Linked DNA regions of Homo sapiens: region 1 is linked to region 2. Evidence: promoter capture Hi-C in 16 types of primary human blood cells and fetal thymus (Javierre and others, 2016). All regions are on one chromosome and are shown on one strand. The core of a region is centred on a gene start or on the middle of the fragment in contact, and the rest is flanking DNA. Distances in the headings are between cores, read along the strand shown. Region 1 overlaps CYFIP2 (cytoplasmic FMR1 interacting protein 2). Region 2 holds the start of RNF145 (ring finger protein 145).

Region 1 (5,966 bases), core at 59-2,558, 1.9 Mb before region 2:
TGACATGTCTTTGCTGGCTACTGTGTTAAGTATTCTACATGCTGTAGTTATATAATCAAAATAAACATTGAGGACAGGCACTATTGTAAATTGTCACCCTTACAAGGTAAGGAAACTGAGGCTCGGAGAGGTTAAGGAACATGCTATTGTTTATATAGCTCATAAGTGGCAGATGACAGATTGAAACCCAGAACTCAAGCTTACCCACTACACTAGCCTAATATTTCACTTCAGTAAAAAGTCTTAATATTTCATTTCTTTCCAGAAAAATCAAACAGATAATGACAATGCAAGTATTTTGCTTACAGAGAAACAGGGTTTAAGCTGTAAATGTCAGAACCTGCATTTCCAAAGCCATGTTCTCCTGGCAGTCGCCCTGCATTTATGGGACCCACCCCCCTCTTGCTTGGGGTCTGTCAGTCATGTCTGCCTGGGGGGGCACCTAAAGCCCCCCCTTCTCAGAAGCAAATTGCTTGTGTGCCCAATGTTATTATTACTTTTGGTGAAACCAGGCCACCGACTGAGTTTGTTATGAAGACACTGCATTTAAACCCATCATGAATGCCCGCCACTGAGAATTTGCAGCTGTGTTTGGTAAATGATGCTCCCAGAACACTGTTAACTTTTAAATATTTTATTAATTTCTTTTTCAAAATGATGAAATGGTCACATGTTCGTAGACCGAATATAAAGAATCATTCTCACTTGGAAGATTGCGTAACAGGCAGGACACTTGGGCAGGAAAGAAGTACGTTCTTATTTTCATTTATACCTCTGTTCAAATTTCCAGAATATTTTTCCTTTCTGATTGATGTGGATTTGGCAGTGCCTACCAGCACTTGAGCTAAAAATGTCGGATTTCCTTCTCCCTTAGGCACTGAATGATCTACCAATGCTCATAGAAATCCACTACAGAAGTTGTATTTGCCAGGGGAGAAGAAAGATAGCATTAACATAAACAGACTCCTAATTTATTTGCTTTGTAGGTTGTTCACTTACTTATTGATTCTCTTCAAGGGATGTTCAGGGGTACTATTATGCTACAGAGGAGAACTTAATGGTTATTCTGGTAAATGAGTATTTTTGTGTGTGTGTGTGTGATGAAGTTTTGCCCTTGTTGCCCAGGCTGGAGTGCAATGGCATGATCTTGGCTCACTGCAACCTCTGCCTCCTGGGTTCAAGTGATTTTCCTGCCTCAGTCTCCTGAGTAGCTGGGATTACAGGCACCCACCACCACGCCTGGCTAATTTTTTTTTTTTTTTTGTATTTTTAGTAGAAATGGGATTTCTACTAAAGAAAAATTGACCAGGCTGGTCAGGCTGGTCTCGAACTCCTGACCTCAGGTGATCCACCCGTCTCAGCCTCCCAAAGTGCTGGGATTACAGGCGTGAGCCACCACACCCGTCTGTAAATGAGTATTTTTTAAGTTTGAGTAGCCCAGAAGAAACCTAGTTACAGGAGAAAAAAAGGGAAGTTGGATAAGAGCTGGGAGCTTATAAACTGATCTAGGGGATTTTATGAAAAATTTGAAACATATATAAAATTGGATGGAAAAATACAGTAATTTCTATGTATGTGTCACACACAATCTATAGTTACTAACTCACTGCGAATTTGTTTCATTTCTATTCACTCTTCCCCCATCTAGTATTATTTAGAAGCAAAACCCTGTGTCCTTTTATCTATATTTTAGTAGATCTTTCTGGAAGATATAGGTTCTTTTAAAACATAACCTTGATATTATCAAACCTAAATACAATATTTCCTTCATATTATCAAATATCCAGTCAGTACTAATTTTCTAATTTTCTCATAAAGTTATAATTTTATTTGTATGGTGGTTTGTTTGAAATAGGATCCAAATAAGGTCCACACATGATAGTGTGTTCAGTCTCTTCAAAATCTATAGACTTTCCTCCCATCTCTCTTTTCTATCTTTGCAATTTATTTGTTAGAGGTCCTGAGTCATTTGTCCAGCAGAATTTGTCATAGATTGCATTTTGCTGATTACATCACTGGGGTGTAGCATGTTTTTCTGCCCTCTTATATTTCCTGTGAGTTGGCGTCAAAGGCTTAATTAGATTCAGGTGTTTTGTTTTGGATCCAGCATTCTTGGTGCGTTTTTCCATCATTAAGCACATAATATCTGATTGTCTTTCATTTAGGGATGTTAACAGCTGATGATGATCCGTGCCTAGATCCATTTGTTTGTAGAGGTTGGAAAACAAGGATATTATCATTTTTCTGTTAAAAAGGAAAAAAATACTTTTATGGAAAGAAACATCCATCTCTTCTATAGTTCGGTTATCTAGTGGTATAGTTTAAGAAAGACAGGTTAAATGTTTGCTTTTATTTACCAATTCTCAACATAAAGGTTGGTTCACAGGCTCATCTAACAGTAACAAAGTAATAAAAACCAAGCTTTTATTAGATGTCTTTGTGATCCATCAGGGCTCTTCCAGCACATCACTCGATTTTAAAATCACTTGGAATAATAGTCCCTTTCTGTGGAGTTACTCCAATAGTACAACATATATATACATTCATTTGTTTCATTTTACTTTTCGATTTGGGGGCCACTTTTTATAAATTTAAATTTTATTTTATAAGTATGTAAAATGTTTTGACGTTTTCAAAGTCAAATCTACAAAATAAGGCATATTCAAAGGATTCTAGCCCCTATCTCTTAACTGTTTTCCCTTCTTTTCCTGTTTTCCATAGGTAACTAATTTTTAAAAGCATATGGCTTGCCTTTCCATTGTTTGTTTTTTAAGTAGAAGATGTGTGTGTAGACATCTGCAGCCCCCTCTCCTGGGTAAATGAGTGCATGCTCTCCATACCATGTCCTGGAGATCACCCGTAGTTGCATGTAGAGAGGGTCCTCACTCCATTTTCCTGCTGCTTCATATTTCCCTGTACAGTGGCACCATAGTTTATCCAGACAGTCCTCTGTTAATGGATGTATTAGGCCATTCTTGCACTGCTATAAAGAAATATCTGAGACTGGGTAATTTATAAAGAAAAGAGGTTTAATTGACCTCAAGGTTCCACAGGCTGTACAGGAAGCATGGTGCCAGCATCTGCTCAGCTTCTGGGGAGGCCACAGAAAGCTTTCAATCATGGCAGAAGGCAGAGGGGTAACAGTTATACCATATGGTGGAAGCAGGAGCAAGAGAGTGGGCAGTGTGGGGGAGGGAGGTGCCACACACTTTTAAAATGACCAGATCTCCTGTGAACTCAGAACTCACTCATCACCAAGGGGATGGCCCAAGCCATTCATGAGGGACCTGCCCACATGATCCAAACACCTCCCACCAGGCCCCACCTCCAACACTGGGGATTAGAATTCAACATGAGATTTGGGTGAGGGCAAGTATCCTAACTATGTCAATGGATGTTTGCTGTTTTCAGTTTTTGCTATCACAAGTAGTCCTGCTGTGAATGGCCTTGTGCATATATCTTTGTGTATTTTTGTCAATGCATCTTTGGGACAGATTCCTAGAAGTGGGATTGCTGGTCAAATGGTAAAATGCTTATGGAAGTTTGTTAGATATTGCCAGATTTCCTCCTACGGGAGTTGTGTCATTTTGCCATCCCTACTAACAATGTTTGGTAGATCCTGTTTCTCCATAGTCTTGCCAACAGCATGTGTAGTCAAACTTTTGGATTTGAGTCGATCTAATCAGTGAGAAATGGTGTATCTCCTTGTAAGTTTCATCTGGATTTTCCTTATTGAAAATGAGATAGGACACCTTTCAAATGCAGTCTTCCTGGTCCCCTGGTTGGAACCCAGGCATTGTGTTATTAAGAAGCTGTGCACATGATTTTTTGGCACAAGCAGGGCCAAGAACCATTAACACAGAGTGTTTGAAAACACCTAGCGTAGAGGTTGGTATGAAATAAACCTCCACTTATCGAGTGTAATCTCAAAATGTGAGCATGAGCCCTTGGAAGGAAGTATGTAGTAAGGAAGCTGACTTCAGACTATGGAGCTGGACAAACCTGGGTCAGACCTCCCTCCACCACTTGCCAGCACTTGATCCTATGAAATTAAATGCCGAGGTTCTGTTTGTTCATCTATAGACTGGGAATAATCATAGTACCTACCTTTATAGGGTGGATGCAAGATTGAAATAGTCAAGTACTTCGCATAGTGTCTGACACAGAGTAAGGGCTAAAGAAATGTTTCACTATTATTATAATTGGAATTAATGAAGAGAATTACTAGGGCTTTGGAGGTTGAAGATCATTATGCCCAGTAAAATCATTACTCCCTCCTGTAAAATGGACCTAGTAGTAGTGTAAGAAGGAAGACAGTCTTTTTTTTTTCTTTTCTTTCAATGGATCAGTGAAGTGGTTTTGCTGTAGAACTGAATGCCACACTTAGAATTGTGGGGGAGAGAAGAGGAAGAAGCTTAGGTGTGGAGAGGACCTGAAACCACCATAGGAGACCAGCCTTCTGCAGAGGGCAGATGAGGAAGTTACCTCTGGGCTCAGTGAGCCCTCACTGGATGCAGCATTTGCTGTTGTCATGGTACGTGATGGGAAGGTGTGTTTGAGAACTCAGTGAAATGTGAATCTAGTTAGCTGCACAGCAGCCAGTGAAGGCTCAGCCCCAGTCTGCCCTCCCAGCCTTGGGCCTAAGGCAGGTATTAGTCTCGGGGCAGCAGGACCTTAGGTATATTCTGCAGTTGTTTTAGTCCTTGGCAGCCCGTGGACCAAATTCTTGTGTTGATGGTCCTTTTCCCCCCTAATGTTAGACACTGTATTTCCTAACAAGCAAAGCAAACTCACTGACATTCACAGCAGAAATCCCAGCCCCAGGATCTCACAACTCCCTGGGATCGAAGGTGGTTAGGAAGGGATTCTCAGACAAGCACAGTGGCCCTTCTCTTTGTGTCCCTCTTAATCGTGTGTTTAGGGTTGGCTTTATTATTATTAATAATATTTTTCTGAAACTCAGCTTTTAGTGTTTTTGTTCACCTCTACTGTTAACGTTTTATTTTGCTTTGCTTTTTGCTTTATGTCTGCCTTTGTAACTCTCAATCCCTCTGTTCTCATTTCTCTGGGCTGATTTTTGTTCTCTTAAGGTTTTTGAGTGTAACATTAACTTCATTTAGTTCCACTTTTCTTTCAGCTAAATGTGTTGAAGACATGTATTAGTGCTTTCCATCTTTCATTTCTAAAGATCTTATCATTTCTATTTGAATTCCTCTTTAGTTATGAATGACCTTGAAGTATGTTTTATAAATTTTCAAAGGTATGGGATTTTATTGCTACAATTTGCATTATTGATTTCTAATTTCCTTGAATTATATTTAATAATAAGTGAATGTGACTTGTAGGCCATCATTTTTGAAGAAACTTGGGGGAACCTGATTTATAGCCTAAATCATGATTAGTTTTTAAGCAGTGTTTCACATATGTTTGGGGGGAAAAATGAGTATTCTGTTTGCTGGGTGCTGAGTTCTTAAAATAGGAATTAGCTCTAGTTGGGTAACTGTGCTGTTCAGATTCTCTTCAGCTTCTAATCCTGCCAAACATACTATCAAAGCAGCTGCGCTGTGCCAGGGTCTAAGACACAGAAATATCCATTTAGGGCTGATTTGTTTGATGTGGCTCACAAAACATACCCAGGTCAAGGAAGACAGTGGCTCCTCCATCTTTGCAAAGAAGGTTGATTTGCAGGAATTGAGTTATTTTAATCCCAGTTTAATTAGCCTAAAAACCCGGGCTCTGGTTTTCAGTTGATTATCTTGGCTGTCACGATCCTGGATAATTGTATTGCATGGTAATTTAAGAGTGGAACTCATAAATATCCTTATGAAGAACAAAAGGTGGAGAAACTAACCATGACCTATGTTCTCACATCCCACTTGAGGTCCCTCGCTTGTGGTCACGTGACTGTGTGGGCATCACATAATTTCTCTGAGCCTTGATTTTTCATCAGTTATATGGATAGGGTA
Region 2 (5,221 bases), core at 1,978-4,477:
AAGGCACTGACGAAACAAATTTAATACATGGAAAATCAAAGAGAAAAAAATTTCAAAACCTTATCACTTTGAACCCTTCTAAAGTAAAAGAGCACATGATAGTTATCAATACAAATAGGTACTTTACACTACACTTTAGCACCACACACTAAACCAACATCAAAACAAAACTTTAAAATATTCATCTTCTTTGCAAGTACTTGCAATTACTCACACCTGCCAAATCACTATATCATACAAACACGAAGTAAAATGGAGCCTTCTCTCCTGATCTAGAGAATACCTTTATAATGTTGCCTAATTTATCCTGTTCCAGATTTATTGTCAAACAGGGCTAATCAGCATATCCTAAAGTACAGGGGAGCTCAATATTCTCTTGAAAACAAAATAATACCAAATAATCCTAGAAAATAAGCAGGAGAGCTGAAAGCAGAAAAAACCGAAAGGTTTAACACACCCAAAGCCAAATACATAAACTTCCTATACTGTTTTATCTTCCATGCAAGATTTTAAAATGTCCTCCTTGAACTTTGAAAAGAACTGGGAAAGTAATATCCAACATGATGTGTCTGCAGGTAACATAAACTAAATGTGACTCAAAGATGTTTTACACAGTAAAACAGCTAAAAACAAACCAAAAAAAAAAAAGGCATTTCTTTCCAAAAACCACAAGAGGTGCAACAAATGCTAACCAAAAAGGAGACCTCAATGAGTTCATTAAATGACCTTCTCAGGCTTAGAAGCAGCAATCCGTAATTATGAAAACAGTAATGTCTTGTAGAAGTATAATGCTGTACAGTTTACCATTCAAATTTGTGGGTTAGAAAACACAGGGGGCTTCATTCTACACTTTCCTGAAAATACGGGATTTTAGTTTTGAATATGAAGAAACCAAACAAATCGTCCTGAATAAGAAAAATGTAGGTTTTTACAGTCACAGCTAATCTCTGAAGAACTATGTCAAATAAGAGAAATGAAAAATGTGATTTTTTATTTCTCTTATTTGAGTTCTTCAAAAATACACCTCCTAAACTTTTTTTTAAAAAGACAAAGAAAAAACAAGAATGACACGTGACCCAACTTAAAACTATTCAGTACAATACTTCTACACCTTCCCCCTAAAAAAGAAAAACAAAAATCATCATTCACCATTATCTCCTTTCTTTCTCCCAACCAGTTAAAAAAAAAAATTCTACCATCAACTAAAACTGATCTTAAGAAAAGTAAATTTTCGGGCTGTCCATCGGTTAGGATGGTAGGCCTCACTGAAAATGTTAAGAGCACAAAGCTAGAGCCTAAAATTCTAAGTAAAAGCCCAGAACTGAGATACCAGGAAAGAGAACGCATTTCTTACATAAGCAATGGCACATGTTTTAAATATAGCTGGTCCTCCCCACTCCCACTCCTTGCTAGCTAACTTTGTATGTACCTGATCTCCACATAAACTACTAGCAATTCTGTGGTTTCTCATCATCTCCCAAACCGCAAAGACAGGGAGTCTACTCTGAATACAAAGGCCATCTTTCAACTTAAGGAACAGAGAGAGGAAATAAAACTGCTACCTCTGCCATCGGCCGCTCAGCCTGGGTCACGACTGCAGCACCGACAGCTCATTCTTTTGGGCATGATTCAAGATTCAGTAAAACTGCACACTCCGTATTTTAAAAAATAAAAAGACACACAGTCCTCTCCTTCCCTTTCAGACTAGTTTCCTCTTTACTGCAGACTGCGACGCAAGGCCATCCACTAATCTTTGATGCCTGCTCACTGCACAGGCCCCTTCCTCTCTCCCCGCACCTCCTCCCACAACGCCTGCAGATCTCAGATGCGTTTGAACTACAGTAACCCCAACCCAGCTCGCGGCAAGCAGGCAGCGCAGCAGCAGTAGCAGCAGCAACCGGGCCGCCGCCGCCGCGGGGCTAAGAGATTACGTTCAGCAAAAACTCTTCCAGGAAAGAGGCTCGAGAGCTCCCCTCCTATCTCGCCAAGGGTGCTGACTCTGTCGCGCCACGCCACGTACCAAAAGGCTCGCGAAGAAAAACGCGGGCGAAGTTCAGCATCCCCGAACAGAAAGGGAACTCATTCCAGAAAGGGGGTTCACGGGTCTGAGGGTCCTTGGGTGGGGAAAGCAGTATTGGAGGGAGAAGACAGAAGGGATGGCAAGACAGAGGAAACCACGGGGACAAAAAGGAAGGGATGAGGAGCCCTCTTACTATAAAAGGGACTGACGGACGGGATGCAGAGCAATGGGCCCCCCTCGAAAAATGGACTGGCAGGCCCTTCCGCACCCCCAAACAACCTCGCACCACCTGAAAGCGGGGAGCTTGAGTTTGGGGCTGCGTAGATCAAAGCAGGGTAAGACGAAGGGAAAGAGGGAGGGGAGCTTGGAAGCAAAGTGAACAAAGAGGCAAAAGAGGCAAAGTTGGAAATGGAAACGAGAAAGGGAGCTGGAAAGGGGCCGCTCTGGAAGGGTCTTGAAAAAGGCCTAGAAATGGGATGCTGGGGAGGCAAAGGGGGACAGCCCCGAGGAAGGGCATCTCAGGAATGTAAGGGAGCGCTCCAGGCCCTGGGAAGAGGAAGGGATGGGAGGGCGGGGAGGCAGCCGAGGCCCGGGAGCTGGAACAGAGGGGGCTTTGCGCGGGGCCCAGGAGGGGAGAGCAGGGTCGGAGGGAGGCGACCACCGCGGGAAGAGCTAGAGGATGGGAGGGAGGGGTGCTGCGGCTGAAGAGGGGATGTGGACTCCTCCAATGCTAGGGAGAAGAGGGAGGTGAAGCGAGATAAAAGGAAAGGGGCGAACAGGGAGAAGAGGAAGGAGCCTGCGACGCGATGGGGGAGGGGAGGGAGGCCGTGGGAAGCGGCCGGGGGGCGCGGGGATGGGAAGGGGCCGGGCGGGCGGCGTGGTCACCTCAGGCTGCGGACTCCCTCCCTGGGGAGCGGCGCTGCCGGCGGGCGGGCTCCGCAACTCCCCGGCTCTCTCGCCCGCCCTCCCGTTCTCCTCGGGCGGCGGCGGGGGCCGGTACGGCACGGCTCACAGCGGCGGCTCTTCTGCGCCGAGCCTCGGATGTTGCTTCTGGGGAGGCGGAGGCAGCGGCAGCGGCAGCGGCCCGGCCCGTACGGTCACCATCGTCCGCGGCAGCAGGCGCTCGCGGGCCGAGCCCCTTAGCAGCCGGCGCCGGCGTCGGCGGCCATGGCCTCCTGCGTTTGCTCCTCCCGCCCCCGGCGCTCTGCGGCGGCCGCGGCCCGACTTCCGCACTCTGCGCCTGCGCGCGGCCCAGCCAGCGCGGCGCGCCCCTCCCGCGCGCGCCCGCGCTCACTCACAATCGCGCCCGCGGAGTGCTTTCCGCACCGCCTCCGGTGCGTGGGCGGGAGACATAAGCCTAGCCAAGCCCATACAGCCCGGCTCGGGTGGCTATGGAGAGGCGTACTGCAGAGACACCTGGACGCGCACTGTGACAGGCGCCATTCTGACACACGTGCTCTCTCACTCCCAAACACCACGGGCCGCAAGCGCTCACACCCACACTCACCTGCAGGGACCACGTGGGAGAATTTGAAGGGCTGATCCTGTCCCGGTGCATTCGCAGTAGCAATGATGCGAGAATTCGTTTTAACCTCGTCACTGACTGGACTAGACTGTAAACTCCTTGGCGTCTGGGATGGCTCAGCCGTGCCCAGCACCAAGTGCAGGCACTCAAACCCCTGTGGAGTAAGTGACTGGATGAATGAATGCATTGGAACTGTTCACTGAGTATCTGTAACAATTTTGATCCCATGGTTTGGTACAAAGAATTTTATTGCAGTATGAAATTAAATGGTGTTTGTGTGTTTGTCTTGTCTTGGTCTAAGGTTCAAAACAGGCTAATGTATGTTTTCCCCTCCCCAACGTAGAGGAGTTCCACTTTGTCTCTGTGCCAGTCTCTATCACAGAATGCGCAATCCTACCCTAATTTAAATGTCCACACCTTTTAGGGCAGGAACTGTTGCCCAGAATACATAGCCTGAAGCATATTGTGTGTTTACACAACGATAGTCTTCTGGGCTTGGCAAGACTTCTCATTCCCCATTTGTCTGCCACTCTGCCTCACCACGACCTTCTGCAACCCCCACTTCTATCTCCCCTGCCTTCCACCATCACCAAAACCCCTCCACTGTTTCTTGCTTTCTCTTTCGTTAGTTCCTGGGGAGCCAGTTGCTATGAGCACCTAGCCTGGCCTTAGATGTTGAAAGGGCCAGTGTACACAGAAGATACACACCCAGTGATGGGTAAGATGTTGCAACTATACTGGGTCATGCTGAAATTGTGAAGCCTCAACTTCTTCATGTGCAAGAGAAATTAATGTACTGTAATCTCGATGTCTGTGTTGAGGACCCTCCTTGTAAATTCAAGTCTCTGGCCTCTGCCCTTTGAATGGTAAACCCCCAATTCTGAACACTCTTGTATCCTGCTGAAATTGTGAAAGCAAGCTCTGTATTTAGAAAATGCAATCCCTGGAGGTATCAGTCAACCAAACTCTGAGTAACTTGCCTTCCATTAGTTTGATAGCTCTGTAGGAATCAAGTGTTTAAAATGTGTGGGAATTGTGTACATAACTCACTATAACCACCTTTCATCCAGGTGCCTCAGACTACTTCACCATAGTCATAAATCCTGTCACATCCCAGTGATGCAGTTCATGAGTCTCTTAATCTAGCCTGGTAAGTAAAAAAATTACAGAGGTCACATGAATAATGACTGGAATAGGAAATGGACCAAGATAGCAAGGCCTTATCTTGATCCCCTCCCTGTTTTAACAACTTTACATCTGACTGAGTCAAGAAAACCTAAGGCCAGAAACAGATTACAAAGAAGTCAAAATGAACGTAACACTAAATTCTAACTTTATTTATTTATTATTCTTGGATAAATGGCAGAATCCTGAAAATGTGATTCTAAAAGGAAGTATGGTTGCTGGATTTGCGTGGTTTTTGTTTGTTTGTTTGTTTGTTTTTTGAGACGGAGTCCACTCTTGTTGCCCAGGCTGGAGTGCAGTGGCGTGATCTTGGCTCATCGCAACCTCCGCCTCCTGGGTTCGAGCAATTCTCCTGCCTCAGCCTCCCAAGTAGCTGGGATTACAGGCATGCACCACCACACCTGGCTAATTTTGTATTTTTAGTAGAGATGGGGTTTCTTCATGTTGGTCAGGCTGGTCTCTAACTGGATTTGTGTTTTAAATGGAGGAGA

The links. The method cuts DNA at HindIII sites, captures the fragments that hold promoters and counts their contacts. A CHiCAGO score of 5 or more calls a contact.
Region 1: a fragment that was not itself captured here is called in contact with the fragment with the promoter of RNF145 in region 2 in 1 of 17 cell types (activated CD4 T cells); the score reaches 5.8 in activated CD4 T cells.

What each region holds. Positions count from the first base shown.
Region 1 is chr5:157,279,117-157,285,082 of GRCh38, forward strand. The region is part of intron 1 of CYFIP2 (cytoplasmic FMR1 interacting protein 2); the gene reads left to right. Among named protein-coding and RNA genes, the nearest start is that of CYFIP2, 16 kb to the left of the region's middle. The HindIII fragment of the contact is 2,222 bases long and covers 198-2,419 here.
Region 2 is chr5:159,206,326-159,211,546 of GRCh38, forward strand. It overlaps RNF145 (ring finger protein 145), which reads right to left and starts at 3,228. Exons shown (of 11, transcript NM_001199383.2): 1 at 2,906-3,228. LOC107986468 (a long non-coding RNA gene) reads left to right here and starts at 1,702. Exons shown (of 2, transcript XR_001742943.2): 1 at 1,702-2,355; 2 at 3,534-3,827. RefSeq lists enhancers at 1,339-1,994, 1,594-1,643, 1,734-1,783, 1,894-2,013, 3,601-3,700 and silencers at 2,911-3,100, 3,141-3,430. The HindIII fragment of the contact is 10,196 bases long and covers 1-5,221 here.